Linked DNA regions of Homo sapiens: regions 2, 3, 4, 5, 6 and 7 are each linked to region 1. The links are contacts of gene promoters, found by promoter capture Hi-C in blood cells and fetal thymus (Javierre and others, 2016). All regions are on one chromosome and are shown on one strand. The core of a region is centred on a gene start or on the middle of the fragment in contact, and the rest is flanking DNA. Distances in the headings are between cores, read along the strand shown. Region 1 holds the start of DNTTIP2 (deoxynucleotidyltransferase terminal interacting protein 2). Region 2 has its middle 35 kb from the start of MTF2. Region 3 holds the start of MTF2 (metal response element binding transcription factor 2). Region 4 has its middle 49 kb from the start of CCDC18-AS1. Region 5 overlaps CCDC18-AS1 (CCDC18 antisense RNA 1). Region 6 overlaps ABCD3 (ATP binding cassette subfamily D member 3). Region 7 overlaps DR1 (down-regulator of transcription 1).

Evidence for each region. Contacts are between HindIII fragments. The CHiCAGO score rates a contact against its expected background, and 5 or more counts as called.
Region 2: a fragment that was not itself captured here is called in contact with the fragment with the promoter of DNTTIP2 in region 1 in 1 of 17 cell types (total CD8 T cells); the score reaches 8.2 in total CD8 T cells.
Region 3: the fragment with the promoter of MTF2 here is called in contact with the fragment with the promoter of DNTTIP2 in region 1 in 4 of 17 cell types (non-activated CD4 T cells, total CD8 T cells, naive CD4 T cells and 1 more); the score reaches 6.3 in non-activated CD4 T cells.
Region 4: a contact is called between a fragment that was not itself captured here and the fragment with the promoter of DNTTIP2 in region 1, in 4 of 17 cell types (M2 macrophages, M1 macrophages, endothelial precursors and 1 more). The highest score is 10.0, in M2 macrophages.
Region 5: a contact is called between a fragment that was not itself captured here and the fragment with the promoter of DNTTIP2 in region 1, in 2 of 17 cell types (M0 macrophages and M2 macrophages). The highest score is 8.0, in M0 macrophages.
Region 6: a fragment that was not itself captured here is called in contact with the fragment with the promoter of DNTTIP2 in region 1 in 1 of 17 cell types (non-activated CD4 T cells); the score reaches 5.7 in non-activated CD4 T cells.
Region 7: a contact is called between a fragment that was not itself captured here and the fragment with the promoter of DNTTIP2 in region 1, in 3 of 17 cell types (M1 macrophages, M2 macrophages and non-activated CD4 T cells). The highest score is 7.2, in M1 macrophages.

Annotation. Positions count from the first base shown.
Region 1 is chr1:93,877,154-93,881,283 of GRCh38, forward strand. DNTTIP2 (deoxynucleotidyltransferase terminal interacting protein 2) reads right to left here and starts at 2,053. Exons shown (of 7, transcript NM_014597.5): 1 at 1,924-2,053; 2 at 1-709. The coding sequence starts at 1,995. RefSeq lists enhancers at 1,779-2,208, 2,060-2,875. The HindIII fragment of the contact is 5,310 bases long and covers 1,562-4,130 here.
Region 2 is chr1:93,041,992-93,046,121 of GRCh38, forward strand. No RefSeq gene overlaps it. Among named protein-coding and RNA genes, the nearest start is that of MTF2, 35 kb to the right of the region's middle. RefSeq lists an enhancer at 502-761. The HindIII fragment of the contact is 2,189 bases long and covers 1,297-3,485 here.
Region 3 is chr1:93,076,998-93,081,127 of GRCh38, forward strand. It overlaps MTF2 (metal response element binding transcription factor 2), which reads left to right and starts at 2,286. Exons shown (of 15, transcript NM_007358.4): 1 at 2,286-2,534. The coding sequence starts at 2,530. RefSeq lists enhancers at 1,849-2,098, 2,035-2,329. The HindIII fragment of the contact is 3,598 bases long and covers 1-3,103 here.
Region 4 is chr1:93,294,545-93,298,674 of GRCh38, forward strand. No RefSeq gene overlaps it. Among named protein-coding and RNA genes, the nearest start is that of CCDC18-AS1, 49 kb to the right of the region's middle. The HindIII fragment of the contact is 2,713 bases long and covers 779-3,491 here.
Region 5 is chr1:93,316,150-93,320,279 of GRCh38, forward strand. All of the region lies in intron 8 of CCDC18-AS1 (CCDC18 antisense RNA 1), which reads right to left. Among named protein-coding and RNA genes, the nearest start is that of CCDC18-AS1, 28 kb to the right of the region's middle. The HindIII fragment of the contact is 1,907 bases long and covers 789-2,695 here.
Region 6 is chr1:94,421,154-94,425,283 of GRCh38, forward strand. The region is part of intron 1 of ABCD3 (ATP binding cassette subfamily D member 3); the gene reads left to right. Among named protein-coding and RNA genes, the nearest start is that of ABCD3, 4.8 kb to the left of the region's middle. The HindIII fragment of the contact is 5,695 bases long and covers 1-4,130 here.
Region 7 is chr1:93,364,645-93,368,774 of GRCh38, forward strand. It overlaps DR1 (down-regulator of transcription 1), which reads left to right. Exons shown (of 3, transcript NM_001938.3): 3 at 1-4,130. Among named protein-coding and RNA genes, the nearest start is that of DR1, 21 kb to the left of the region's middle. The HindIII fragment of the contact is 5,973 bases long and covers 1-4,130 here.

The DNA.
Region 1 (4,130 bases), core at 803-3,302:
AGAAATTTGGCTTATTTATCTCAGAAAGAGATCTTGCTTGTAAATGGGAAGTTTGTCTGGTATCTGAATCCTCTGAATTCACAGGTGTACCCACGATCTGTTTCTCATTTCCTGGTACAATCTTACTATCTTTCTTTTCAGTTTGTGCCTTTAATTTCCTCTGCATACTCCTGGTTCTTCTAGTTGCAATTCCAGAGAATGAAATGTCTGAGCTTGATGTCTCAGCATCAGATATAGCTTCTGTATGAGATTCTTGGCTTGGATCTGTCAGAGATTTAGCCTTACTTCTTCTGGCTCCTGTAGTTTTTTCTGTAGGAAGCACAATTCTAGAAATACCTGAAACATGAGATTCTGCTTCAGACACTATTTCTTCAGTGTAAGACTCCTTTGTTGGAGTTACTTTCGGCTTTTTCCTAACACTGGACACTGGGGAGCATGCAATTAAGATCTGCCTTCTCCTAGTTACCCTTAAAATGGTATCATGGTGCTCAGACACAGAATAATTTGACTCTGCCTCAGAGGTTTCTCCATCCGTAGATGGTTCAGTCCCCTTTGGTAGTGAGCCTGTAGTTCTGCTCTTCCTCTTTCTAGCTTTAGGAGTTCTAGGGATTAAACTTTGCTTCCCAGTGGTCTGTGATTCAGCAGTAGTTCGGGCATCAGATCCAGTACTACTTTCTGGATGCGCTTGAATCCCATTAGCAGCAAAACTCTGCAAACCAGAGAAAACACACTGTAATTTAGGTAGGGCTGGAACAAGGGCAAAGCAAATGAAATACTGACCCCAAAAGCTAAAACCCAGTAAACAAGATTACCTTTAAAACAAAAAACAAAAAAACCTGCCCAACTCATGATTTTTAAAAAATCAAAATTTGGCCGGGCGCGGTGGCTTACGGCTGTAATCCCAGCACTCTGGGAGGCCGAGGCAGGTGGATCACGAGGTCAGGAGTTCGAGACAGCTTGGCCAACATAGTGAAACCCCATCTCTACTCAAAGTAAAAAAATTAGCGGGGCGTGTTGGTGCGCACCTGTAATCCCAACTACTCAGGAGCCTGAGGCAGAAGAATTGTTGGAATCCGGGAGGCAGAAGTTGCAGTGAGCCGAGGCTGCGCCACTGCACTCTAGCCTGGGCGACAGAGCAAGACTCCGAATCAAAAACAAACAAACAAAAAAATCAAAATTTAAACACTGGAGCCAACCCTGCATTTACTTCACTAGCCTCATCCTTCCTAGATGTAACTTCAGAAGCAGAACGATTAAAATTTTTCTGTTTAAAGTCAAATATAATGGGTAGACCAACATTCTGACCCACCTATAGAAGAGGGGAGAAAGGGAATATTAACTCTGAACACCGATGTGTTTAGGAACACACTGATGGAATCAGTCGCCGCCCTTACCTTTACGTACAGGAAAAAATCGCCGCCGCTCCGTTCCCTGCATCGCTGAGTCAGAATGAGACAGCCGACTAACGCCACTAAGAGTCACCAGGCGACGACACCACAGCCCTCCTCACGCCTTAAGGAGGTGATGCTGGACAGCTGCCAGCCTCCCCACGTGAAAACGAAGCTTTTTTTCCAGCCCCCCTAAATGGGGCTTGTGCATGGTGGCCGAAATTAACCCTCCTTGGTACCGTGTTAACAGTAAGGTTTAAAAGTTCGAACTGTGCTTCTGCATTAAGGAGTTGAACGACCCAAATAAAGTTATCTAACCTCTCTTCCATACTAAAAATTGCCTTAAGAGACAGTGGTGAAGGCTAAACAGTTTCCGTGACAGGCTTAGCACGGGGCCTGGGAGACCCAAGCGCGCGGCAAGCTCGGGTCCTCTCTGTCGGCAGGTCCTCACCCTTAACCGGACCCTTGCGCCGCCCCGCCTGCCTGAGCGCGGCTCTGCGAAGCGGCGAGAAGTAGGGAAGACTGGATTTCCTACCTTTTGCCCGGAACTTTCAGCCGACGCGGCTTGGATGCTGGCCTTAGCCCGTGCAGATCTGGTAACCACCATCTTTCCGGCTCCCTCGCGACCACCACGACTTCCCTCTTCCCTGGCGCTCCGGAAATGCGTCAGAGAACTGCCTCGAGCGCGTTTTCCGCGCAGATCCGAGAATTCGCGAGAATCTCCGCCCAGCCAGTTCAGGCCAGGGCGGTCAGAGACAAAGGGCCTGGGTTTAAGTGTGCATTTCAGAGCTGTAGAAGGCAAGCCAGATTTTTGCTGGGAAAGACCTTCATCGGGGCGGCGAAGCCCGCAGTGACAGAGGGTCTTAGCGTACCCGTTCACATGAATTGTAAAAACGCACTTACATGCCATTCGTTCTTTCATTTGTTTAGTAGAATCGTTTGAACCCGGGAGGCGTTCTTTCATTTCTACGTTCTAAAGAGCTTAATGTAGCCATTGGTATGTCCAAGGGAGAAGTTTGAGATATTTGTGCTTTTTAAAGAAAGACAATATTTACTCGTGTATTGTGACGCTAACTATAAATAAAATTTAAGGACTTGGTTGGGGTAAAAGGGATATAAGGTGCTCGCAGGAACTGGGAGACGAAGTGGAAAGCTGTATAATCTAAACGTGAGATGGTGTTTAGGGATTGGGAATAGCAGAAAAGAAAAAAACGTTAAAGAAATTGTAAAGGAGAAGAATAAGGTTTTGTTGTTGTTGTTGTTGTTGTTATTGTCACAGTGAAAGGAAGAGTATGACCAGAATCAAGAGGTTTCTTTGGTTATCTTTTGAGATAAAAGGTAGAGAACTATGTTTGAGGGGATGGGAAGGGGTTGAAAAAATAAGTAAACGCAAATTATTGTTGGAGGTGAGAAAGGATGAATGAGTGCCTCACCAAACCTAGTCTCTACTTCATGACAGAAAACCAATTTTTTATTTAAAGTCACAGAACACTGTGTCGATGGACACACTGCTTCCCAGCTTAAAATAGCTTATTTTATAGTCTCTCTTGCAGCCAAATGTGGCTATGTGACTACGTTTTAGCCAATTAGGTATAAATTGTGTGCATGTCTTTAGGGACGGCATCTAAAAGAGAGGAGGCCGTCCCTGACTTTTTTTTTTGGAGACGGAGTCTTGCTCTGTCGCCCAGGGTGGAGTGCAATGGCGCAATCTTGGGTCACTGCAACCTCCGCCTCCCGGGTTCAAGCGATTCTCCTGCTTCAGCCTCCTGAGTAGCTGAGATTACAGGCGCCCGCCACCATTCCTGGCTAATTTTTTTTTTGTATTTTTAGTAGAGACGGGGTTTCACCATGTTGGGCAGGCTGGTCTTGAACTCCTGCCTTCAGGTGATTCACCCGCCTCGGCCTCTCAAAGTGCTGGGATTACAGTGCTGGGATTATAGGCCTAAACGACCTCGCCCAGCCCTCCTGATCTTTTAAAGTGCATTTTACTTCCTGGAAAGTTGGGTTCGCTGGTTTTCAGGCGGCAAGTTTGTGCCATAAGGATGAAGGCATGCTTTAGAGATGGCATAGCAGTGAGATGGAAAAATCAACTTGTGGAGCTGCCCTATGAGCCCTCAAGAGCCGCCTTCTAGATTTTTCACCTGATGGAAACACCTTGTTAAAAGCCACTGTTAATTAAGGATTTTTCTATTTGCAGCCGAGCCTAATGCTAACTGAACTGGATAATAAACAGAGATGTGGGTGTAGTCAGAAAAGAATGCACCTTCCTTTGAGCCAGGAGGAAAGAGTTGATATCTGAAACAGAGAGGAGAATGTGAATGCAAGTATGTTCAAGTGGAGTGAAGAAGAGAAGATTTTGGGTAGATAATAACCTCTGTAAGTAGGTGATACATCTCAGAAGAATGGAAATGGTTTATATCAACATTTGTGGCAAATGTGGTAAGAAGCAAAAATAAATTTTAGTAGGGCCAAGTAGCAGTGAGACTATGTAAGAAGATGAACAGAAGAGAAAGGTTAGATTTGAGGAGGAGACAAATCGTGTAGAAGGAAAGTGAACCAATTGGATGTAGGTTGTGGAGATCAAAGCATCAAAGAACAACAGCATCAATCATAATAGTATTGGCCACTTAATATCTGCTGGATACTAATCTACGTGCTTTACATGTATTCATTCATTTAATCTCCACATCTTTAATTTGAGCAAATGCATGAAAATAGAAATTAAGATGACAGAGGTAGGTG
Region 2 (4,130 bases), core at 1,141-3,640, 830 kb before region 1:
GACCAAAGACTTAGGGTATGAGGAAAGTCCTACTCTTGTAAAAACAAAACAAAACAAAAACAACCCATGTTACTGTTACCAGTAGAGGCTCTTGACTGCAAGCTGCCCAGGTTCTTCGCATTTTGAAGAATTGGGCAAAACGCACAGCAAAGCAAGGAAACAATGAAGCCATGAAAGCAGAGATTTATTGAAAGTGAAAATACACTCCACGGTGTGGAAGCCCTCCCAACAGCGGCTCAAAGGCTCTGGATACAGAACCTTCTTGGGTCCAAATACCCGCTAGAGGTTTCCCATTGGCCACTTGGTGTTCACCACATGTAAATGAAGTGGTGGTCCACAATTAGTCTGATTGCTTGCAGACAGCAAGCAATCAGAGGCTGAAGTCAAGTTACAAAGGTCACACTCCTATGCAAACATATGGTTGGTTGTGGAAAGCAAACAATCAGAGGCTAAAGTGAAGTTATAAAGTTGCACTTCTATGCAAATGTAGCCTTGGCTCATAATCATAATCACTGAAGTGAAGTTACAATGTTATATTCCTATGGAAAGGTCTGATTGGTTGCAAAAAGTAACCACTCAGAGGTAGTTTCAGTTTCCCATCTGCTGTGTAGAAAAGGTTGGGGTTTGCAAAGGGAGTAGCTTCTGGTCCTTTTGTTACGTAGGTGCAGAAAGTTGGGGTTTTTCTTTCGATTTAGTTCTAGGAAGTCAGGGTGAATCAGCCTTAGGTTCCTTGCCTCCAGACCCTATTCTGCCTCATTACGATATTCCTTTCACGTTCTTTGGGACTATTCGGTGTTTCACATGAGATTGGCTCTCATGCCTGGTGAAATACTCAAATTCAGTTATACAGATAACCTTGTCTTGAAAAGTTCTAGAAAGCACTACTGAAACTTTAGTCTCCAGCTTTATTTCTTCTGGACTACTTGATACAAACTGTCTCTCTCTCTTTTTTTTTTCTGAGACAGGTTCTTGCTTTGTCATCCAGGCTGGAGTGCAGTGGCTCAAACATGGCTCACTGCAGCCTCCGCCTCCAGGGTTCAAGCGATCCTCTCACCTCAGCCCCACAGGTAGCTGGGACTACAGGTGCGTGCCAGCATGCCTAGCTATTTTTTTGTATTTTTTTAAAGATGGGGTCTTGCTATGTTGCCCAGGCCGATCTTGAACTCCTGAGCTCAAGCAATCTTCCCATCTCGGCCTCCCGAAGTGCTGGGATTACAAGTATGAGCCACCACACAGAACCAGTATGATCTCTTTTCATGGTACTTAAAAAATTATATTACTAGCCTTTGTTCAACAAGCTTGTATAAGTGTAATGACCTATTTTATAAATTATTTTTATTGTATTTTAAATTAGATGTTTATTGATGACTTAGCAAGAAATACATTACTCTCAACACTAAAAGCCTATTAACATTAAATTATAAAATTTAGTATTTCCAGAATATTTCTTGCAGACACCAATCCCATCAATGTTTCAACTCAATTTAATAGGCATCTTGTGAAGAACTGGTATAGAAAATCAGAGTTTTGCTCAATGCCTAATTATCATAAATTGAAGCATTTATTGTCTTCTATGTTCTTAGTACCATATTTAGTTATAGGACAATTCATAGTCCTATATGGTGCTATGGTATAGCAATAGGCTATACCATATAGCCTAAGTGTGTAGTAGGCTCTACCATGTAGGTTTGTGTAAGTGCACTCTATGATGTTCACACAAGGACAAAATCACCAAACAATGCTTTTTTCAGACTGTACCCTGTCGTTAAGCAACATATGACTGTGTTTTATATGGGAATATGGACACCAAAATGTTATTCTCTATGTGTATTATGAGTAATTTTTATTTTTTGTTTTATACTTTTTATATTTTTTCAGAAATAACATCAATACTTTGTAATCAGAAAAATATATTTTAGGGATAAGTATTGGCTTGTACAATTTTTTTTTTGCTTTTGTGAAAATACAGAGGAAAAACTAATGTTATATTATAACGAAAATGGTATATGTTAACAAAGGAATCCTTTTACAGAAACTCCTTAGAAATAAAAGGAAAATCAAGGCCAAAGCAAAAGTCATGTCATGACTTTAAAGAACTTTGCCCCCTAGGATACAAAATCTATTAATTTTAACGGTGGGGCTACTGTTTGTAAGAGTACCAAACATTCTGAATAGATAGAAGCCTCCAGCTGTAAACTGATGGACTTTTGTGGTCTCAAAGCAGTTGAGGGTTTCTACCCTTAAAATACCATTTCTCATGTTACAGCAATTGAGAGTGTGCAAAATGTATAGAACAGATTGTGTTTCACTCTATTTGCGTGGCTTGTTGAAGTTAGATTAATACTGTGGGAATCCTTACTCCATTCATAACTCTGAATATGTACTTATGGTATTTATATATCTAGAATTTAAGTAATCACTCTTGCCCACCATCTGTACACGGATAATTTTTACCCTGGGAGCTATTGGTTCCAATGTATTGTTTTGACATTATACGCTATAGTTGATTCAAACAGAAGTGAATACCACAACAGTTGGCACTCTAAAATAAAATCCAGACCAATAACTTTCACAATTTTGTGGAATCTAATATGCCTATTACCCACACTGAGTCCACTACAGAATTAAAGTGAAAACTTGGAAAAGTAAGAATGAGATCTATATAAAAATTATCATCCCTCACTTGACAAAAAATTCTCATTGAAATCAATTGAGACTACAGGGTTCAATCTAGGAAAGTTGTATAGACCTAGAGTTCCCCAAATTTCTCAACTATGTCTGTTGACTGATATTTATGGCTTCCCTTTTCATTTATATTCTTTTTCTTTTCAAACACAGTGTAGTATAACTTGTTTAATTTTTTTAAAGTCTGAAGACTCAAAAACAAAACTAAACAATTTGAAAGCAAAACCTTACTGGCAGTGCAGATGCAACTTACAAAATATGAGAATCAGATGTGGAGATCTTTAGGGATTATAACATTTTAGATGATGATGATGATAACAATTATTATTATTATTTGAGACAGGGTCTCACTCTGTTGCCCAGGATGGAGTGCAGTGGCGTGATCTTGGCTCACTGCAACTTCCACCTCCTGCGTTCGAGAGATTCTCCTGCCTCAGCCTCCCAAGTAGCTGGGACTACAGGCACGTGTCACCATGCCTGGCTAGTTTTTGTATAGGTTGATGCAAAAGTAACTGTGGTTTTTGCAATTTTAAAAGTTATTTAATATTTTTGGTAAAGACAAGGTTTCACCATGTTGGCCAGGCTGTTCTTGAACGCCTGACGTCAAATGATCTGCCTGCTTTGGCCACTCAAAGTGCTGGGCTTACAGGTGTGAACCACTGAGGCTGGCCCCTTTTAGAAATTTTAATAGTAGCCAAGGCATGATCGGTACCAAACTATCTAATTCCAGCTACAAAGGTTGTTTGAAAACTCATTTTTAGAAGTTTGATAGCCTGTCCATAATCATACCACTTCCCACAAGCTTGAAAAAAAGAAAAAAAAGCAGGGGATAGCACATGGATTATACAAAAGGATAAAAGGATTATTATTATGTATTTATTTATTTATTTTTGAGACAGAGTCTTGCTCTGTCACCCAGGCTAGAGTGCAGTGTCGAGACCTTGGCTCACTGCAACCTCCACCTCCCGGGTTCAAGTGATTCTCATGCCCTAGCCTCCCAAGTAGCTGGGATTACAGGTGTGCGCCATCACAACCAGCTAATTTTTGTATTTTTAGTAGAGTTGGGGTTTCACCATGTTGGCCAGGCTGGTCTTGAATTCCTGGCCTTAAGTGATCCACTGACCTCAGCTTCCCAAAGTACTGGGATTACAAGTCTAAGCCACAGTGCCTGGACAAAAGGATTATTTTAAACATAACTAATGTTGCTTATTTACAAGTTTTTATGTACTTCTAAATTTCAATATATTTAAAGTTTTCTGTTGACTAATTTAATCAAAACCTGTCTAAAGTTGAAGAGAGAAGATCCTGAGAAGTTACGTATTGATTAATTCCTAAACTTAGTTGTAATGTATATTGACCTAACTCTAACTTTATCTGAAACTAATAGGTCAACCTAATATTAGGTCAACATTATTATTATTATTTGTTTATTTATTTAATTTGTT
Region 3 (4,130 bases), core at 1,036-3,535, 800 kb before region 1:
GGATGATCACAGAAATACATACAACAATAAAGGGTACAGTTTACTCTGATCAGAGTTCACTCTATATTTCCGAGGAACCACAACTACAGCAGGTTTTTTTTTTTTTTTTTTTTTTTTTTGAGGCAGTCTCACTGTGGCTCAAGTAAGCCTACCACCTCAGCCTCCTGAATAGCTGGGACTACAGGCAGGGGCCCAGCTAATTTTTAAATTTTTTGTAGAGACAGGGTCTCACTATGTGGCTCAGACTGCATACTGGTCTGGAACTCCCCAGCTCAAGTGATCCTTCTACCTTGGCCTTTCAAAGTACTGGGATTACAGGAGTGAGTTGCTGGTGGCTGGCTGACAGGTATTCTTTATACTTGACTGTGACTCCCTGAGTGTCCTTAAATCTCTGAACACTTGGTTTGCTTACACCTTTGTACTCACACGTTTGCACAGAAAAATAACACTTTTTTTTGATAGAGGCATAATTTACTTCTCTAATGTATAAGGGATTAGAATACTTTTGTGTAGCCAAAGAGCCTAAATTATTAGAGTTTCTGAGGTGGAAATGAATGCGTCTGAAGTATTGAATCACTGAAGATTTTGAAGTTGAGGCTTGGTGACCACTTTACAGAAATGTTGAGGAAAACTTAGACCAAACGTTCTCCAAAACAGATGTTCTCTGATTAGGCTTAGCTGCACAGCAAATATATCTGTTTGTGCAATATCTTTATTAATTTTTGTACTGCATCTACTTTTTAATATTTTATTTATTTATTTACCTTAATGCCACGTTCCTGAATGGGAATGCATCTACTTTTTTTTTTTTTTTTTTGAGATGGAGTTTTTGCTCTTGTTGCCTAGGCTGGAGTGCAATGGCACGATCTTGGCTCACCACAACCTCTGCCTCCTGGGTTCAAGCGATTCTCCTGTCTCAGCCTCCCGAGTAGCTGGGATTACAGGCATGTGCCACCACACCTGGCTAATTTTTGTATTTTTAGTAGAGACGGGGTTTCTCCAAGTTGATCAGGTTGGTCTCGAATTCCCGACCTCAGGTGATCTGCCTGTCTCGGCCTCCCAAAGTGCTGGAATTACAGGTGTGAGCCACCGCGCCCGGCTGCATCTGCTTTTTTTAAGTCAAAATTTTCCTCAGCCAACGTATGAAGGTCACTTAAGACGAATTTATGAGAGACGATGATGAGAATTGAAATAAAGTGAAACCTGAAAGGTAGTAGGTAAGTAGATACAGTGAGGGTACAGTAAGAAGACAGACTTAAAAGATTAGGACTATTATTCAGGAGAAGCAGAGGAGTGGAAGGGTATGACCACAATATTTAAAGTATTGAATGGTATTGGATAAAACGAATATGCTTATTTGCCAAATTCTGAGATCACAGGCTGAGGGAACCCCTTTTGAAGTATGAGCCAAATGAGCTTAGACCACAAAAGGTACTTTTTCAGAGACAGAAAAAATATGGTGTTCACTATCCCTGTGGCATAATATGGGACAAAAATATAAAATGGCTTTAAAAATATTTTGACGAAATTATAAATAAAGATTCCACACGTGGCTACTAAGAGGAGCTGGGTTGTATCTAGGTGTAAGTTAAAGAGACAAGCATACAATCTCACAGCTTGTCAGTTGGGACCCCTGTAGGCAGCAGAATCTGGGCAGGCTAAGGGTCTGCACTAATAAACAATTCTGTTTTCTTAAACCATTTTGCAGGGGACTATTCTCAGATTTCATTACAACTAGGAAGGACTGCAAAGCGGGTAAACAGAAAACAACCTTTCATCGTTAGGAAAAAAATCGTCTGAAAGTCTTTCATAAAAGCAGCTCCTGATAAGGAGTTTGGGACTGGACAGTGAATCGCTGAATAAAATTTAATCTCGACATCCTGGGTCTTCTCCCCTCTGAAGGAAATTCTAACAGCAGGCCTTAGGATGAAAGTAGAGGAAACGTGCTTCAGTTAAGGTTTTCTCCAGGGAAAAGAAATCGGCCCAGCAAGATGCACAGAGCACCGTTACGACCACGCACACCGAAGGTCGCACACGACCCTTTTCCTGTATAACAGTGCCAGCCTGCCGACGATCAGGAGCGCAGCTTTCACTATTGTGTTAGCCCCGGCGGCGGAAGGACTGAGCCTCACTGCAACGTTAAAGAGTCCTTCTTTGTTCAGCCCCAGTCGGGGACGCAGGGCGCGGTGTTCCTCCGCGCTCGCCGCGCAGTCCCTGCCCCCCCGCGGCTTTGGAGAGCTGCCATTCGGCACCGGAGTCGCTCCGCGCTCCCAGAATGCACCGGCAGTCCGCGGGAAACCAAAATGGCGAGGGGCTGTATTGAAGTGGGCTGTGTTTGAGGCCGGTGTAAGAACGCTCATTCTACCCCCAACCCTTGTCTCCAAGGACCTCGGTTTGTGCGTGCATATGTGCCGGGTACCCGGTGGGGCGGGTGCCCAGTAAGTGCTCGGACTCGCAGGGGAAGCGCCCACGGGGACGGATTGGTTGTTTTTTCCTGTATGAAGCGGTTGGCACCACTGAAGTGACCGAATGAGGTGAGAGACCTTGGCCTGGGAACCGACTCTTCCGGAGGAGATGGGGGTTGGGGGAAGGAGGAAGAAAGGAAGCAAGTATAAAAGGGAAAGATGGAGGACCAAGGTGGGGGTGGGGGCTCCTGTATGTGGGTGCCTTTGCATTTATGTGTATATTGAAAAGAATGGATGAAGAGGAGTAGTCAGTTGAGTGTTGGGAGAAAATAGGGACTAAAGGAGCGAGGAGGTCGTTGGGGGAGTCTGTTGGAGGAACAAGATGAAACGTTGAGACGGGGAAGCTGTGTTTGGAGGGCAGGAAGGAACCTGGGGGCGGGAGACGGTTGGAGGGGCAGGATGAACCTGGTGACGAGGGGGTGGGGAGCCGAGAGGAGGAGCCGTTGGGAAATGGGGGCTGAGGGAAATGTGGGGAGCAGAGTGGAGGGCTGCCTGGGACCTTAGCAGTGCGCAAAGGGAAGTAGCAGCTTGGAATCGGAGGGTGGAATTGTATGGAATTGGAGTAAAGGGGGTCGAGTGTAAGTGCTGGTAAGGATAAGGGGAACACACTGAAGTGGAGGTTGGAAGCACAACCTGAAAGCTTAAAGGGAAGCGGTGGGAGGGAAAGTGAGATGGGGGAAAGCTAGGTAGCTTATATTTGGAGCTCACCAAAAATATGAGGCTTTTCTTGTGTTTAATTAAACCTAACTCATATAATCTACGTCTAGGATGTAGATTTGTATTGTATTCATTTTTACAACTGAGGTAATTACGGCTCAAGGAATTTTAACCAATTTGCCAAGATTTCTTAACATATTTCGGTAGTGCCAGAACTCTAACTCTGTGTTTTACAATCTGGTGTCCTTGGTTGCTAGAATTTTTCTTTGGAAGCAATTAGAGGGAACAGATGGATTTATCGGGGTAATCTGACTAACAGCAAGGGTTTGTGAACAATGGGAAAAGGCTTATGGAATGTTACTCTATTCTTTAAAACATTTAACTTTGGTTAAAGATAGAAACCATGTAACACTAACTTAAATGTGAAAACCTAGCTAGGCCTGTGTGTAATACATAGGAAGGCACCATGTGAGGTCAGTACAGAGCTAGAAATATGTAAATAGTACCTGATTTAATTTGACTTCAGAACCTCCGGTAGTAATAGTAGTTACTTTCTCCTTCAGATGGATTCCATGTGACCCTCCTGTATACCTAGCCTACAAGCTGGTTTCAATTTCCATGGTTTCATTCTCTCTTGGGAATTCCTTTTTTTTTTTTTTTTGTCAGTAAATTTCAAAGATAGTTGTATGTAGAAGTAGTTAATGTGGATAAAATGTAATTAAATTCACAATAACCTTTTTAAGATTTGAAAATGCTTTAAAGGGAGTTGTTTTGACTGATGGCTTTAAGTGCCCTATAGTTTAGTTATAACTTGAGAGGGAATACAAAATGACTTGTTTTTTCAGATTCCTAAATATAAAAATGTATTTGAATTCACATTTTAAAATTAGTTCACCTGCAGTTTTTTAAAGTGCTAAAAATGTTCTAAATATTTGAATTAAGAACACACCTGCTTCCTGATACTACATTTATAATGTTAGTGGGTATTAACGGAAATGTGTAACTATC
Region 4 (4,130 bases), core at 885-3,384, 580 kb before region 1:
AACTAAAAATTAAAACAGTTGAACTCACGGAGATAGAGAGTAGAAAGATAGTTACCAGAGGCTGGGAAGGGTAGTGGTGGGGGTGCAGTGGGAAAGTGTGGATGGTTAATGGGTACAAAAATATAATTAGAATGAACAAAACCTATTGTTGGATTAAATAACAGGGCGATTACAGTCAACAATAATTTATTGTACCTTTAAAAATAACTGAAAGAGTATAATTGGATAGTTTGTAACACAAAGGATAAATGCTTGAGATGATTGATAGCCCATTTACACCAATGCCAGTGTGATCATTATACACTGTTTGCTTGCATCAAAATATCTCATACTGGCCAGGCAGGTTGGCTCATGCCTGTAATTCTTGCACTTTGAGAAGCTGAGGTGGGAGGATCATTTGAGCCCAGCAATTTGAGACCAGCTTGGGCAACATAGTGAGACCCCATCTCTAAAACGAACAAAAACAAATTAAGTCTCATATACACCATAAACATATACACCTACTATGTACCCCACACAACTTAAAAATTAAAAGTTAAAAAAACAGAGAAAGTTAATGAAGCCAGAAACTAGTTACTGGAGTTGATTAATAAAATATATAAATTTTTAGCCAGGCTCACACAAATAGAAGATACATAGTATCAATATCAAAAATAAGACAGGTAACATCACTTCAGATTGTGCACTTATTAAAAGGATATAGAATGTTATCAACAGTTATGCCAATAAATTTGGCAATTTCAAATGCACAAATTTCTTCAAAGACACAAACTACCAAAGCTTCCTTAAGAAGAAACTGATGACATGATTAGCCCTATATCTATTAAATAAATTTAACTGAAGTTTAAAAACTTTTCCACAAAGAAAATTTCAGATTATGACATTTTAATTCTTTTTTTCCCCTATGGAATATGCTAATTTTATTCTATGAGCAATGGGGACTTCATACATGTTTTAAAAATAACTTTTTTTTTAAATTTCAAATGTGCATTACGGGGAATTGAAAAACACAAGAATCAAAGAACAAAATAATCCACAATAACAAGCATCTTACAGTTGGATGTGTCCTTCTAGGTCCTGTGTTGTCTATATACAACATCCAATTTTATGTGGTTGAGATCATGCAGTATGTATCATGCCTTTTCACACATTATGAATATTTACCAATTCAAAATCTCAAGTATTTTGATAACTGAGAATATACTACACCAACTCAATCTATATTAAAAAATATATAATCCTGCCTTTCTTGGGGACAAAAATTTCACAGAAGCCCAAAATGGCAATAGGCGTCTAGATAAAGGTATCGGCAAAGTTAATAAAAATTACTGCATTCCCTTAATGCTCTATTTAAAATGAGACATAAAGCAAGAGTACACTAGTATGTTTCTAAGAGAATTCATTATCAGAACTATATTATTAGAATATTAGTGAAAGGCCGGGCACTGTGGCTCATGCCTGTAATCCCAGCATTTTAGGAGACCGAAGCGGGTGGATTGCTTGAGCCCTGGAGTTTGAGACCAGCCTGGGCAACATGGTGAAACCCTGTCTCTACTAAAAACACAAAAACTAGCCGGGCGTGGTGGCGGGCGCCTGTAATCCCAGCTACTCAGGAGGCTGAGGCACGAGAATCGCTTGAACCTGGGAGGCAGAGGTTGCAGTGAGCCGAGATTGCACCACTGCACTCCAGCCTGGGTGACAGAGCGAGACTCTGTCTCACCAAAAAAAAAAAAAAAAGAATATTAGTGAAAAAGCATGTTTCCATTGGATTACTGAGTGTGTTACTATAGTAGAACCAAAAGAGATGCACACACATAAATGGCTATCATCAATATGTAAATATAAACACATCTACATACATCTCTCCCTTTAAACTTCTTTCTGTCCTTTTGCTGCCAACCTAATGAGCAAGTTCTGATATACACTACTCAGAGGTGGTTTAACAATTCCATGTTCAAGATGCATTTTTTTCTATCCATTTATAACAAATATATATTTAGAAACTGATTTAGCTTTACTTTTTATCATCACCCCAAGACACCTATAAAACTTAACTGTTACAAAATAAAGAATGGACACTGCTGATGGGAATGTAAATTTGTTTAAGACTCTTTCCTGTCTCAAGTGAAGGGAAGGAGTATTTCCTGGGGCTTGAGCTGTGCTAACTGGAGTTGGGGGAGGGGTGGCACAAACACTCCCTTGATTGCCCCAGCTGGTGTCTCACTGGGTCGTATGCCCCCCACATCCACTGGCTCCCAGCCCAGCACAGCACCAGGACTTGCCCAGGAATTGCAGTCCTTGTGGCCTAGACTGCTTTTCAAGTTTATTTAGGACCCCAGAGCACTTTAGCTTGTGTTGGTGAGGCTTGCTGAAACTCAGGTTCCAACCACTGGAATGGGTGATTCCCCTCTGGCTAAGGCTGGTCTAGATGCTCCCTTGTTGGGTGCCAGCTGAGTTCTGCCCAGTGTTGTTTTCCACTGTGATAGGGCTGTACTGAGTACCAATGCAAAGTCCCAAAATCACTGCGCTCTTACTCCCCAAAATGCACAGATTCTCTCTCTGCGCTATATAACCTACTGCTGGGGGATATGGAAGCAGTGGCATCTGCAATTCAAGACTGTTTTTCTTACCCTCTTCAGTGCCTCTTTCAGTGATATGAAGTTAAAACCAGGTACTGTGACTGCTGACCTGATTTTTGGTTTTTATGGTGCTTTTTATGTGGATAATTGTTAAATTTAGTGTGCAGAGGGGCTGATTGGTAGAGGCTTCTATTCAACCATCTTGCTCCACTTCCTCCCATTATGTTGTATATATCTTCAACAGACACACACACACACACACACACACACACACACACACACACCCCAACAATCTAGAAATAGAAGACTAATTCCCTTAATATGATAAAAGGCATCTATGAAGAACCTACAGTTGACACCATACTTAATGGTGAAAAACTGAATGGTTTCATGCAAAGATTAGAAACAAGGTAAGGATGTCCACTCTCACCATTTCTTTTCAACATTTAATGGAGATGTTAGCCAGTGCAATAAGGTAAAAAAAACAAAAAGGATAAAAGGCCTCCAGATTTGAAAAGAAGTAATAATACTTGTTATTTGCAGATGAAAATCCCAATCAAAATCACAGCAGGATTTTTTGTAGAAATTCATAAGCGAATGAATTTTAGATTCATGCTGACACTTAAAAGACCTAGAAAGCCAAAACAGCTTTGAAAACAAAAACAGAATTGGAAGACTCAATATCTGAATTCAAGATGAGTATCCAGAAATAGACCCACACATATGTGGTCAATTGATTTTCAAGAAAGTTCTAAAGGTGATTCAGTAGAAAAAAAGACATCTTTTAATAAACTGTGCTGGTACAATTCAATATCCATGTGGGAAAGAAAACTCAATCCATACCTCACATCATAAACATTAACTAAAAAATGTATCCTATATCTAAATGTAAAATCTAAATGTAAAATCTAAAGCTTTCAAGTTTTAAATATAAAATTTAAAACTTCTAGAAGAAAACAAAGGAGAAAAATCTTTGTGATTTTGGATTAGGCAAAGATTTATTTGATGTAACACCAAAATTATGATCCATAAAAGAAAAAAGTTTGTAATTTTGACTTTATCAAAGTTAAGAACTTATGTTCAAAAGACTTTTTTTTTTTTTTTTTTTTGAGACGGAGTCTCGCTCTGTCGCCCAGGCTGGAGTGCAGTGGAGCAATCTTGGCTCACCGCAAGCTCCACCTCGTGGATTCACGCCATTCTCCTGCCTCAGCCTCCCGAGTAGCTGGGACTATAGGCGCCCGCCACCATGCCCAGCTAATATTTTGTATTTTTACTAGAGACAGAGTTTCATCATGTTAGCCAGGATGGTCTCGATCTCCTGACCTTGTGATCTGCCCGCCTCGGCCTCCCAAAGTGCTGGGTTTACAGGCATGAGCCACCGTGCCCGGCCTAAGACATTGTTAAATAGAATGAAAAAAACAAGCCATAGACTGGAATATTGACAAATCACATATTTGAAGAAGACTTGTAATCTTAATATATAAAGAACTCTTAAAACTCAAGAATAACAAAACATCTCAGTTTGTGTGTGTGTCTGCGTGTGTGTGTGTC
Region 5 (4,130 bases), core at 492-2,991, 560 kb before region 1:
AAAGCAATCCTGAGCAAAAAGAACAAAACTGGAGGCATCACACTACCTGACTACAAAATATACTACAAAGTTATAGTGACCAAAACAGCATAGTACTAACATAAAAACAGACACATAGACCAATGGAACAGAATAGAGAGCCAAGGGCTGGGCACAGTGGCTCACACCTGTAATCCCAGCAATTTGGGAGGCTGAGGCTGGTGGATCACTTGAGGTCAGGAGTTTGAGATCAGCCTGGCCAACATGGTGAAACCCTGTCTCTACTAAAAATACAAAAAATTAGCTGGGCATGGTTGCCCACACCTGTAGTCCTAGCTACTCAAGAGGCTGAGGTGGGAGAATAGCTGGAACCCGGCAGGTGGAGGTTGCAGTGAGCCGAGATCGCACCACTGCATCCCAGCCTGGGAGACAGAGCGAGACTCCATCTCAAAAAAAAAAAAAAAAAAAAAAAAAAAAGAGCCAAAATATAAATCCACACATTTACAGCCAAACTTCTTCCACAAAGGCACCAAGAACATACAATGGGGAAAGGACAGTCTCTAATAAATGGTGCTGGGAAAACTTGATAACCATATGCAGAAGAATGAAACTAGACCCCTATCTCTTACCATATACAAAAATAAAATCAAAATGGATTAAATACTTAAATGTAAAACCTGAAACTGTGAAACTACGAAAATAAAACATTGAGGAAATGCTCCAAGATATTGGTCTGGGAAGATTTTTGTGGCCTCAAAAGCATAGGGAACCAAAGCAAAGTTGTCAACTGAGATTACATCAAGCTAAAAAGCTTCTGCACAGCAAAGGAGACAAATAATAATGTGAAGTGATCGCCCACGGAATGGGAAAAAAGATTTGCAAACTACCCATAATAAATAATTGTTAATTCTTTATTAATTTATTTAACCCTAACTGATTTTCCTGGCTATTAGGAAACTCAGAGCTTAATTTGTGGTTCATCTTTAAAAACTGAGCATGCTTTTGTGGTTGTGCTTATTATATATATTAACCTTATACATCTCTACTCCCAACAAAGCCAGCTTTATCTTATTTTATTCTGGTATTTTCTCTGCTAACCCATTAAATTATGGCCCCTTAGTGAACCACATCTCACAGTGTTCCCACATTTGTATGGTGCTTTTCCTTAAATATGGGCTAGGCCTGTGACTTGCTTCAACAAGTGGCATGTAGCAAAAGTGACACAGTGCCAATTCCAGGCCTCAACTTTAAGGAAGCCTGGCAGCTTCCGTTTTTGTGCTATTTGAAGCTCCGAGCCACATGTAGGAAGTTTGGCTACTCTGCTGCAGAGACCACATGGAAAGTGCTACATATGGAGGTCATGTAAAGAGGAAGAAGCCCTGAAACTACATGGAGAAAGAGAGAAACTCAGTTCAGCCTCCCAGTGTTCCAGCTGAGCCCAGCCTAGATTGTGGAATCATGAGCAAACTAATGAGTTAACCAATTAGGTAAAGAAGAAATAACCAAATGGTCCCATTCCAGAATGCCCACCCAAGCCCTTCCTCTTTCTTTAGGATGCTGTTTCTGAAAGTCTGGCCTGAAGACCACCTGTATCAGAATGACCTGGGGTGTTTATTTGAAAGAAAAATTGTCAATCCAACCCCAGAATTTCTTGGGCAAGGCAGGATAATCAGTATCTTTAACAAAACTTTTCCAATTGATTCATAAGGAAAATAAAGTTTAAGAACCTGGTTAAGGGCTTTCTCCTGACTGTTCTCCACACTAATCTAAGCCTACCCTTCTTTTTGACAGTCTATTACTCTATTTTCAGAAGTTTGATCCTGCTGTTCCTCAAATGCTGGACCAAAATTCTAGATCAAGGAATTTCTCATGCTATTTTCCTCTCACCTATCCAGCTCTGTTCTACTTGGTTCATTCACTCTGTATCCACCTTGTCTTCAGGAGCTCTGATTTTGAGGTGCTTCTCATGTCTCAGCTAAAGAAACTCAGGCCTAAAAAAACTGAAATCCCTGACTGTGCAGATTAGTTCTGGTTCTTACCTTATTTTTCAGGCCAGCCACATCAGCTGTCCTCATCCTTAAAGTATCATGATGAGAACTTCTGAAACCGAATACAGTTAAATATAAGGACAGAAAAATATCTGATGGTTTTGTCAATTAGATATTGGTAAACTCAGTGAGATCAATTTAGGGGTGCGTTAAAGGAAAAAGATTTTGCAGTAGGTTTAAGAAAGTTTTTAACAAGGTAGAAAAGACTGAGCATGCTTGCAGGTGGAGGAAAAAGAACCAGGAAGGAAGGAAAAGTTGGTAATAAAATAATGTGTGGTTGAGAAGGTAGCATGAACCAGAAGGGATGAGAATTGATTATAAAATAAGGTCCCAGACAAAGAGGGAAGGTGTTTTCAGTTTTCTATTGCTATATAATAAATTATCCCAAATTTACCCATTTTATTATATATCATGATTTGAGGGGCCAGAGATTTCGGCAGGGCTCAGCTGGGCAATTTCTCTGCCCCACGATATCCTATGTGGTTACTTGCCAGGTTTGCTGGTAGATGGGTTAGTCTCAAAATTCCAAGATTGCTTCATTCACATGTCTGATATCTTGGCAGGAGTGACTGGAAGGTTGGGCTCAGCTAAGAATGTCAATAAGAGCACCTACAGATGGTCTTTCCAGGGTACTCTTAGGGTGACTGGCCTTCTTACATGATGGTTCAAGCTTTCAGAGAGGATATTCCAAATATCCTGGGCAGAAACTATTGGTATAAGTCTTCTTATTACCTCATCTCTCGGATCCCAGAATGTCACTTCTGATTAATTCCGTTGGTCAAGTCACTGACTGGCCTTACTGACTCAGCCCAGATTCAAGGGAAAGGGAATTACACCCCACCTCTTGGTAGAAGTGTCAAAGAATTTACAGTCATTTTTAATCTGCTATAGAAGAGGTGAATTGGATAAGATCAGAGAATATAATAAAAGATTTGCCTTGGACATGAAGACAGAATACTGCTAAATGTTGGAGTATGCAGAACTCTGGTCCTCGGCTCCTCTCTTTCTATCCAAGTGTAGGGAATGCTATGCATTTACAAATTCGTAAACTTTCTTAAAACATTATGAGATATTGTGTGTGTGTGTGTGTGTGTGTGTGTGTGTGTGTGTGTGTGTGTGTGTGTGTGTTCTATCCCAGAGTAGGGAATGCTATACATTTATAAATTCGTAAACGTTCTTAAAACATTATGAGATATTTTGTGTGTGTGTGTGTGTGTGTGTGTGTGTGTGTGTAGCTCATCAGCTATTGTTAGTGTTAGTGTATTTTACGTGTGGCCCAAGACAATTCTTCTTCCAACATGGCCCAGGGAAGCCAAAAGATTGGATACCCCTTCTATATTGTCTCCCTAGGTGATCTCGTCTAGACTCATTGCTTCAAAGAACTTTATATACTGATACCTTTCAAGTGTATATCTCTAGACCCAAGCTCCTTGCCTGAGCTCCAGAACTTGTATATCCAACTATCTACTCAGCATATAACTTGGATGTCTAATAAGCATCTCAAATTTAACATGGCCAAAACCAAGCTATCGGATTTCTATCACACCCCAAGTCTGCTTCCCCTGAGCCTTTCCGGTCCTAGTAAATTACACAATTATACACTCAGTTGCTCAGGACAAATACCTAGGAGCCCTATTTGTCTCTTCTCTTTTCCTCACACAGCACATTCAATCCATCAGTATCTACTTCCAATTCATCAATAGGTTCCATTAGCTCCAACTTCCAAAATATATTCTGAACCTAACCACTTCTTTCCATCTCTACTCTTCCAATCTAGGTCAATGCCATCATCACTTCTCACTGGTCTCTGTGGCTGCACTCTTGATTCCTCATTGTCCTTCCTCTATCCACATAGCAGCCAGAGTCATATTTCTAAAGCGTAAACCAGAGAATATAATTTCCTTGCTTAAAATTATCTAAAGACTTCCCATTGCATCAGAATAATCAACAAACTTCTCATCAGAGTCTATGAGGCTCTCCAAATCTTGCCCCATCTGTGTCTCTGACCTCATCTCTCTCCACTCTTCTCCTTGTTCATTGAGCTCTAACCACTCTGATACTCTGTCCCATGAACACACCAAGTTTGTTCATGCTTCAGGCCAT
Region 6 (4,130 bases), core at 1,148-3,647, 540 kb after region 1:
TACCCAAGGAGTACCAACAACATTCTATATTCTTGTTTCATCTATTTCAACCTGCCTGTCACCCCTTATTTTTATAGGTTTTTTAGGTAAAATTTATATACATTGAAATGTACAAATATTAGTTGTACATTTTTTAAACAAATGGATACACTATGTAACACATCCCTATGACAAATTAGAACATTTCTATCCCACCAGAAAGTTCCTTTGTATTCATTCCTGATCAGCTTGTATTCACTCCTGATTCCAGCACTGCTAAGCTAACTTTTTCACCTTAGTTTGCCTAATCTTACCTTTTATTTTATTATTTATGGGGAAAAGAAGAATCTTTTTACTCATGGATAAAGAGGGCTATTTAAAGGAAGTGTCTATTTCAGAATGTTATATTACTGTACTGGGAGCTATAAGATGTGTGTGTGTGTGTGTGTGTGTGTGTGTATTACAAAAATATATGACTTGTTTTCTCAGGGAGCTTACCTTCTTGTTAGGGAAAAGAAACTTAAACACTGATAGCAGAATGAAATGTACAGATAGACATGTCTTAGAAGTTTTGAGAAAGACAAGATTAATGTGTTTGGGAAGGGTTGGGGAAGGCTTCATGAAGGATGTGTGTTAAGCCTAGAAAGGGGGTAGGAGTGGATAACTGGAATAAAGTGACTGTTACAGCATCCTTTATCAGATTTTTGTTGCATTTATGTTAGAAAGAAACTTTGTGGTGCCCTTTCAATCCATCTTCCACTGCCACCAGAGCTCTTTTTAAGAAGCTCAGATATGATCATAATATTCCTTCATTAAAATCATTAATCTACTCTAAAATACAAACTTTCTGTATTCATGGTGTGGTCCTTCCCTACTTTTCCCACTCATCCAACCATAAGTGCTGGGATTACAGGCATGAGCCAACTTGCCCAGCTGATACTTCTTTTTCTTCAAGACTCAGTCAACACTTTGTCTTAGGTGTTTTCTGTCTTTTTCTGATTTCCAAACTGATGTAAGTGTCCTCTGCTTTTATGATACTGTAGGCCAGGGGTCCCCAACCCCCGGGCTGTGGACTGGTACAGGTTGGTGGCCTGTTAGGACCCAGCTGCACAGCCTGTGCAAGCGAGCATTACCACTTGAGCTCCGCCTCCTGTCAGATCAGCAGGGGCATTAGATTCTCATAGGAGCGTGAACCTGTTGTAAACTGCACATGTGAGGGATCTAGGTTGCACACTTCTTATGAGAATCTAATGCCTGATGATGTGAGGCAAAACAGTTTCATCCTGAAACCATCCCCCAACTCAACCCCAATTTGTGGAAAAATCGTGTTCCGCAAAACTGGTCCCTGGTGCCAAAAAGGTTGGAGACTACTGCTCTAGGTATCCCCTACTCTAGCACTTACCATTCTGTATTGTACTAGTTTGTTTTCTTGGCTTTTGCCTACATCAGATCCTGAGTTTCTTGAGGGCATGAACTGAGTCATCTTTAATTCCCTAGTTCGGCTCTGTCATGGGTTAGACAGTGTTTATAGAGAGGATAAATGACATAGGATAGTTGAAGAACTTTTAAGCGTAATTGACAGGCATTTGGAGATGCCTAGTACAAACATGAATAGAAACATTCTTTTTGCAGAAGTAATAGTTGTGTACCTGAGCATATATAACCTGACCTGGGTAGTGGGAAATCAGTGGGCCAATTTTAGAAGGCAGGGAATGGTACCAGTCTGTATAGCCATAGTATTTTATTATCTTTAAAAAACAGAACAGAACAAAGCAGTTTCTTTCGCTTCTTATCAATGCTTGTCAAATAGAGTTCGGATTTCTCATCTTGGATTTCAGAGCCTCCCTCAATCTGGTCTTACTTTACCTGGCTAATCTTATATGCCATTGCCTGCCAATGGGTACTCTCTGTTCCAAATAGGACAGTTTCTACACTGTTCTTTGAACAGGCCACACTCATTTTTGGCTTTGGAGCTTTATTCATGCTGTTACTCATACCTAGAATATCTTTCTATGATATCCCTGTTCTCCAACTCTTGTCATCCTTGAAGGGTTAGGTCAGGGTCACCCTATCCATGAAGTGTTATTTAACTACTCCAGATGATCTAAATGATGATCACCTCTTTTAAAATTTCTGAAGCATGCATTTAAATACCTTTATTGTTTTATCTATTCATTGCTTGACTGGTTATAATCTAGCTAGGTCTACCAAAGTCCACCTGCTTATGGGGTGAGTTTCCTGCTTTTAAAAGCCCCCCTCTGTAAATGGTGGGAACACAGTTTCCTCTCCTAAATATTTCTCAGGAATTTCAGGGAGCTTGTGTTTCTTTTAGTGACATCTTACTTCGCTTCCTTTGGAGCACTTTCTGCTCTATTTTAGAAGGTACTTACATCTTGTCTCTTGAGCCTGTCTCTTTGGCGTCTGCCTTGATTTCTCTAAAGAATCAATCACAAAGCAGATATTTATAGTAGGGCTTTATTGAAAATTTGGGAGGAGTGGTAGGGATTATATCCCAGCATAGTGAACAGCTTAAAATGCTTTTATTTAGAAGTTTTTTGGACATTCCCACTGCTGGAAATTTCTTGACTTTTTTTTTTGTCCTGAGTCTCAGCCCTGTTGCCTGCTGCTGGGCCTTTCTTTACCCATTGGGTGTCCTTATATCTCCAGCTTCTTACTCCCTGCACTACGTTACTGCTAACCCCTCTACAACTTTCCTGCAAACTTCAAAATTCAGCTTTCCTTCCTTAAATCTGCCCCATTCAAATCAAGCTCTAGAAGGGGCTGGCTTCACTTTTCTCAGTTTCACAGGCGCACTGGGTGTTTTGCAAAGTGCAAGCATGAATCATGTGAGGGGCTAGAGCGGCTTGAGACCCTTACAGTTACCCATGAGTAGATGTTATATGGCCCCGTTTGGATCCTCAAAATAAAAAAGAGATGCTTAAGCAACCTTGGATGGAAAAAAAAGCATTGAAGAATTTGCCAGCCAAAGTAGCTGTGTACTGAACCCAACTGAGGCAGATCAGGCCCAGAGCAGTGTTCTGAGAACTGTGTAGCTGTCTGTGGTCTGCTAGGGGGAACTGAGTACAGGTTGTTTAATTAATTATATGTCCCAGTTACTGGCACATTCACATCCTTGGGTAGGCATTCTATTTCAAGGCTTTTGCTCTTGCTGTTTCCCCTGCCTGAAGTGCTCTTTCCTCAGATACTCACATTGCTTACTCTCCCCACTCTTTCAGTCTTTTTTCAGACATCCTTTTAGTGAGACCTTCTATTGCCATTCGATTTATTTTTATTTATTTATTTATTTTGAGACGGGGTCTCACTCTCTCACCCATGCTGGAGTGTAATGGCACCATCTTGGATCATTGCAACCTTTGCCACCCAGGCTCAAACAGTCCTCCTACCTCAGCCTCCCAAGTAGCTAGGACTACAGCCACACGTCACCACACCTGGCTAATATTTTTTGTAGAGACAAGGTCACGTTATGTTGCCCAGGCTGGTCTCGAACTCCTAGGCTCAAGCGATTCTCCCACCTCAGACTCCCAAAGTGCTGGGATTACAGGCAAGAGCCACTGTGCCTGGCCCCTGCCACTCAAAATAGCATCCTGTCTACCTTCCAGACTTTACTTTTCTCCTTAGCACTTATCACTATAAAATATGCTATATATTTTACATATTTATCTTGTCTGTTGTATATGTTTGCAGTATATACATACTGCTAGCATTTAAGTTCCACAAAGGCAAGAATTTTTGTCTATTTTATTCACAGTTATAGCCCCAGTGGCTAGAACTGTGGCTGGAATATATAGTAGACACTCATATTTGTTTGACTCTACAACAACAAATGAGATTCTCATTTTTTGGGGGCTGTGGTTACTATTGTTTTAAATAACACATTCTTTTTGCTACAAATGTAAATGTTGTCTTTAGTATATTTATGAGCTCTTTAGGAGCTGGACCACTTATACCCCCTATATGTACAGGTAAAGCAAGTCTCAGAAACTTAAAAAAATGCTATCATCACCTGCTTTTGACAGTTTAATAGAGTGTAAACATTAAAGACAATTTAAGAAAATTAAAAATCATCCATAATGTTATAACCATAATACAAATATTGTTTTATTTTTGTTTCCTTTTATTCTGTATTTATG
Region 7 (4,130 bases), core at 657-3,156, 510 kb before region 1:
GTGTCATGGTTAGGATCGGCCAGGGTGAAGAGAATGATAACATAAGTAGCCTCCTTTCACCTAAAGTATTACCACTGGTTCTTATCCTATTTCCTCAAAATAAATGAGAAGAGAAAGTAAGGAATAAGAGGAAGAAACTTTTTTTTTTTTTTTAAAGAAACAGGGTCTCACTATGTTTCCTTTTTCTTTTTTCTTTTCTTTTCTTTCTTTTTTTTTTTTTTTTTTTTGAGACAGAGTCTTGCTCTGTCACCCAGGCTGGAATGCAGTGGCGCGATCTCGGCTCACTGCAAGCTCCGCCTCCCGGGTTCACGCCATTCTCCTGCCTCAGCCTCCTGAGTAGCTGGGACTACAGGTGCCCGCTAGCACGCCCAGCTAATTTTTTTTGTTTTTTTTTAGTAGAGACAGGGTTTCACCGTGTTAGCCAGGATGGTCTCGATCTCCTGACCTCGTGATCCACCCGCCTTGGCCTCCCAAAGTGCTGGGATTACAGGCGTGAGCCACTGCGCCCGGCCTATGTTTCTTAATATAGATTGCAGTGGCTAGATTACAGTGACTATTCACAGGCATAATCATAATGCACCATAGCCTCAAACTCCTGGGCTCAAGCAATCCAAAAGGAGGAAACTTTTAACTTATGATCAGTTTCTACCATAAATCAAGCAACTTAGAAAAACCTTAGAACAGGGTTTCTCAAACCAAGCATTGTTAGTATTTGGGGTTGGTTAAGTCTTTGTTTGTGGGAGCCTATCCTGTGCATTGTAGGATTTCTAGCAGCATAATTGGCTTATGCCCACTTGATGTCATTAGCACCACTCCCCACCCTACTTCCAGTTGTGACAACCCAAAAATGTCTCCAGACATAGCCAACTGTCCCTGGGTGTTGCGAGTATAGGAGGCAAAATTGCACCCTGTTGAAAACCACCACCTTAGATCATCTAGGTTTTACTTTTAGGATAAGACACTTGAGGGAAAGGCTGTGAAACTGAACCTCTGTTAGAAGCAACACACAGTATCACTGCAAAAAGACTAAAAGAAATAGGTGATTTGGAAAGAGGAGGCCCAGGATTAAAATATGTTTCCAAGAAAGTCAAATCTTACAGGAGACTCTTGACTTCACATCTGCTGATCCCTTTACCCGATAGGACCTAGAGCAGCCATTATAAATCTCTGTACCTGCTTGCTGCTTTTCTACCTCATTGTTAGCCACACCCAGTTTGAAACAGATGAGGTATGCTATTTCATAACTAGTACATCTTTTAATAAGCATTTTTTATTGTGATTAAATATGCATATCGTAAAATTCACCACTTTAACCAGTTTTAAGTGTTCAATTCTGTGGCATTAAGTATATTCATACTATTGTGCAACCACCACCACCATCCGTCTACAGAACTCTTCATCTTCCCAAACTGAAATTATGTATTCATTAAACAATAACCACCCATTACCTCCTCTCTCCTCAGCCTCTGGTAACCAGCATTCAGTCTCTATGAATTGACTACTCTGGATATCTAAATGGATTCATTCTTATTTCATTTACCATAATGTCTTCAAAGTTCATTCATGTTGTAGCATGTATTAGAATTTCTTTCCTCTTAAAGGCCAAATATGCCGTAGTATGTAAATACCGTATTTTGTTTATCAGTTCATCCATTAATGGACACTGGGTTGCTTCTGCTTTTTGGCTATTGTGAATAATGCTTCTGTGAACGTGGGTATACAAATAACTGTTTGAGTCCTAATAGGCTTGTTATTTTTGAGTGCACAGATCTGTATATTCGCAATTGAAATAGGGAAAGTCTTTATATTCATATAAAGATAATTTATAATACAATAAGTCCTCAATGTTGTTGATAGGTTCTGGGAAACTGCGAGTTTAAGAAAAACAACATATAATGAAATCAATTTTACCATAGGTGAACTGATATAAATAAGAGTTAAGTCCCTATGGCATATATTTCTGGTTACAAAAACACTACCAAATTTCTAATAAAGACCCAAAACACTTCTAAAATTAAACATTGAGATTAATATGAGCTTTATATACATTTAAAAAGGATAAAAACAAGTAAGAATTGGCTGGACATGGTGGCTTACGCCTGTAATCTCAACACTGGGAAGTCGAGGTGGGCAGATGGCTTGACCTCAGGAGTTCGGAACCAGCCTGGGTAATATGGTGAAACCCGTCTCTACAGAAAAATTCAAAAATTAGCCAGAGGTGGTGGCTTGCACCTGTAGTCCCAGCTACTCGGGAGCCTGATGTGGGAGGATCCCTTGAGCCTGGGAGGTCGAGGCTGCAGTGAGCCATGATCACGCTACTGCACTCCAGTCTGGGCAACAGAGCAAAATCCTATCTCAAAAAAAATATATATATTATCCAGCCCCAAATGTTTATGGGGTTGTTATTGATAAACCCTGCATTAAACAATCCCACAGTCGGTGCTGCGGTGAGCCGTGATGGTACCACTGCATTCCAGCCTGGGTGACAGAATGAGACCCTGTCTCAAAAAAAAAAAAAAAAAGTAAAAATTATTTACCCAATATTTGGCGAATCAGTGAGTGACAGCAGTTGTAGTGCTAGTGGGTTAAATCAAGGAATAACTGTTGGGAAGTGAAAATTTTAAGGAGCACCTCCTACCACCATGCAGTTCAAAAACAAAAAATAAGAAATAAAGTGGGCTTGCTGAGTGCTTTCATACTGCATCATTTATTGTGCATTTGTATGATTATTATATACTTTACAAATTTTCGTTTTACAGTAATTTGTATTCATTCGTTTTTCAACCTGCTTATTTCAGTTCAGTGTCTTGGGTAGCTGGAGCCTATCCCAGCAGCTCAGGGAGCAAAGTGGGAGCCAACCCTGGACAGGATGCCTTTTCATCACAGGGCGCACTCACACGGCACACACACGCATACTGGGACCATTTAGCTGTACCAATTCACCTAACGTGCATCTTTGGGAATTGAGAAGAAACCAGAATACCCAGAGAAAACTCATGCAGATATGTGGAGGACATGCAAAATTCACACAGACAGTGGCCCTGGTTGTAAATAATTGTTTTTCATCAATGTTATAATGAAATTACAGGCCGGGTGTGGTGGCTTACGCCTGTAATCCCAGCACTTTGGGAGGCCGAGGCGGGTGGATCACGAGGTCAGGAGATAGAGACCATCCCGGCCAACATAGTGAAACCTCATCTGTGCTAAAATACAAAAAATTAGCCAGGCTTGGTGGTGTGCACCTGTAGTCCCAGCTACTTGGGAGGCTGAGGCAGGGGATTTCTTGAACCCAGAAGGCGGAGGTTGCAGTGAGTTGAGATCGCGACACTGCACTCCAGCCTGACAACAGAGCAAGACTTCGTCTCAAAAAAACAAACAAAAAAAGAAATTACATTAGTTGAGGACCTGCTGTATGTGATATGAACAATGAGGATCAACTCTTTTTGTAATAGTTTTTTTACATATGTTATTTCATTTGTTTATTTCCTCTGTGAGGGTAAGTATTGATAGTCCAGTCATAGACTGGTAACACAGGCACACCATTAAAAATAATAGACATACAGTATGCAGTATTTTGTTTTACTTATGAAACTCCGTATTTTATGTATGATGTATTGAGTATGAAGAATAGTACATACTGTTTCCTTTTAACTTTATGTTTCTTGCCTTTGTATATTTTATATGAATAGCACTTGTCACTAACATAGAAAGCAGTAGAGGTGGAAGAGGGAGACTTGCCAGAATAAGTTTTTAATGTGAATCAGAGATTTTTATTAGGAATTGGGAGTGGAAGGAGAGAGATAGTATTAGAAAGTATGTATGCAGCAAAGGATGGAGAAACTGTCCTTGTTGTTAAGGCATCTAAGGATGCTCCAATTACTGGGGAAAACATACCAGGCTCAAAATGGTCTGATTATGCAAATACCTTCTAATACGTTTGTTTCTTTTGTTGTGCCTATAAAAGATGCCATTAACTTCATATTTATGTCACTAATAAACTTCTAGAATCCATGTAGTAGGGTGTAGTAGTGTGGTTAAGCTATGAAGAACAATGGTATTTATTTCCAAAACACTTATTTGGTATATTACATAGGATAGAGTATGTTTTCTAAGCCAAATAGTGTTAGGTT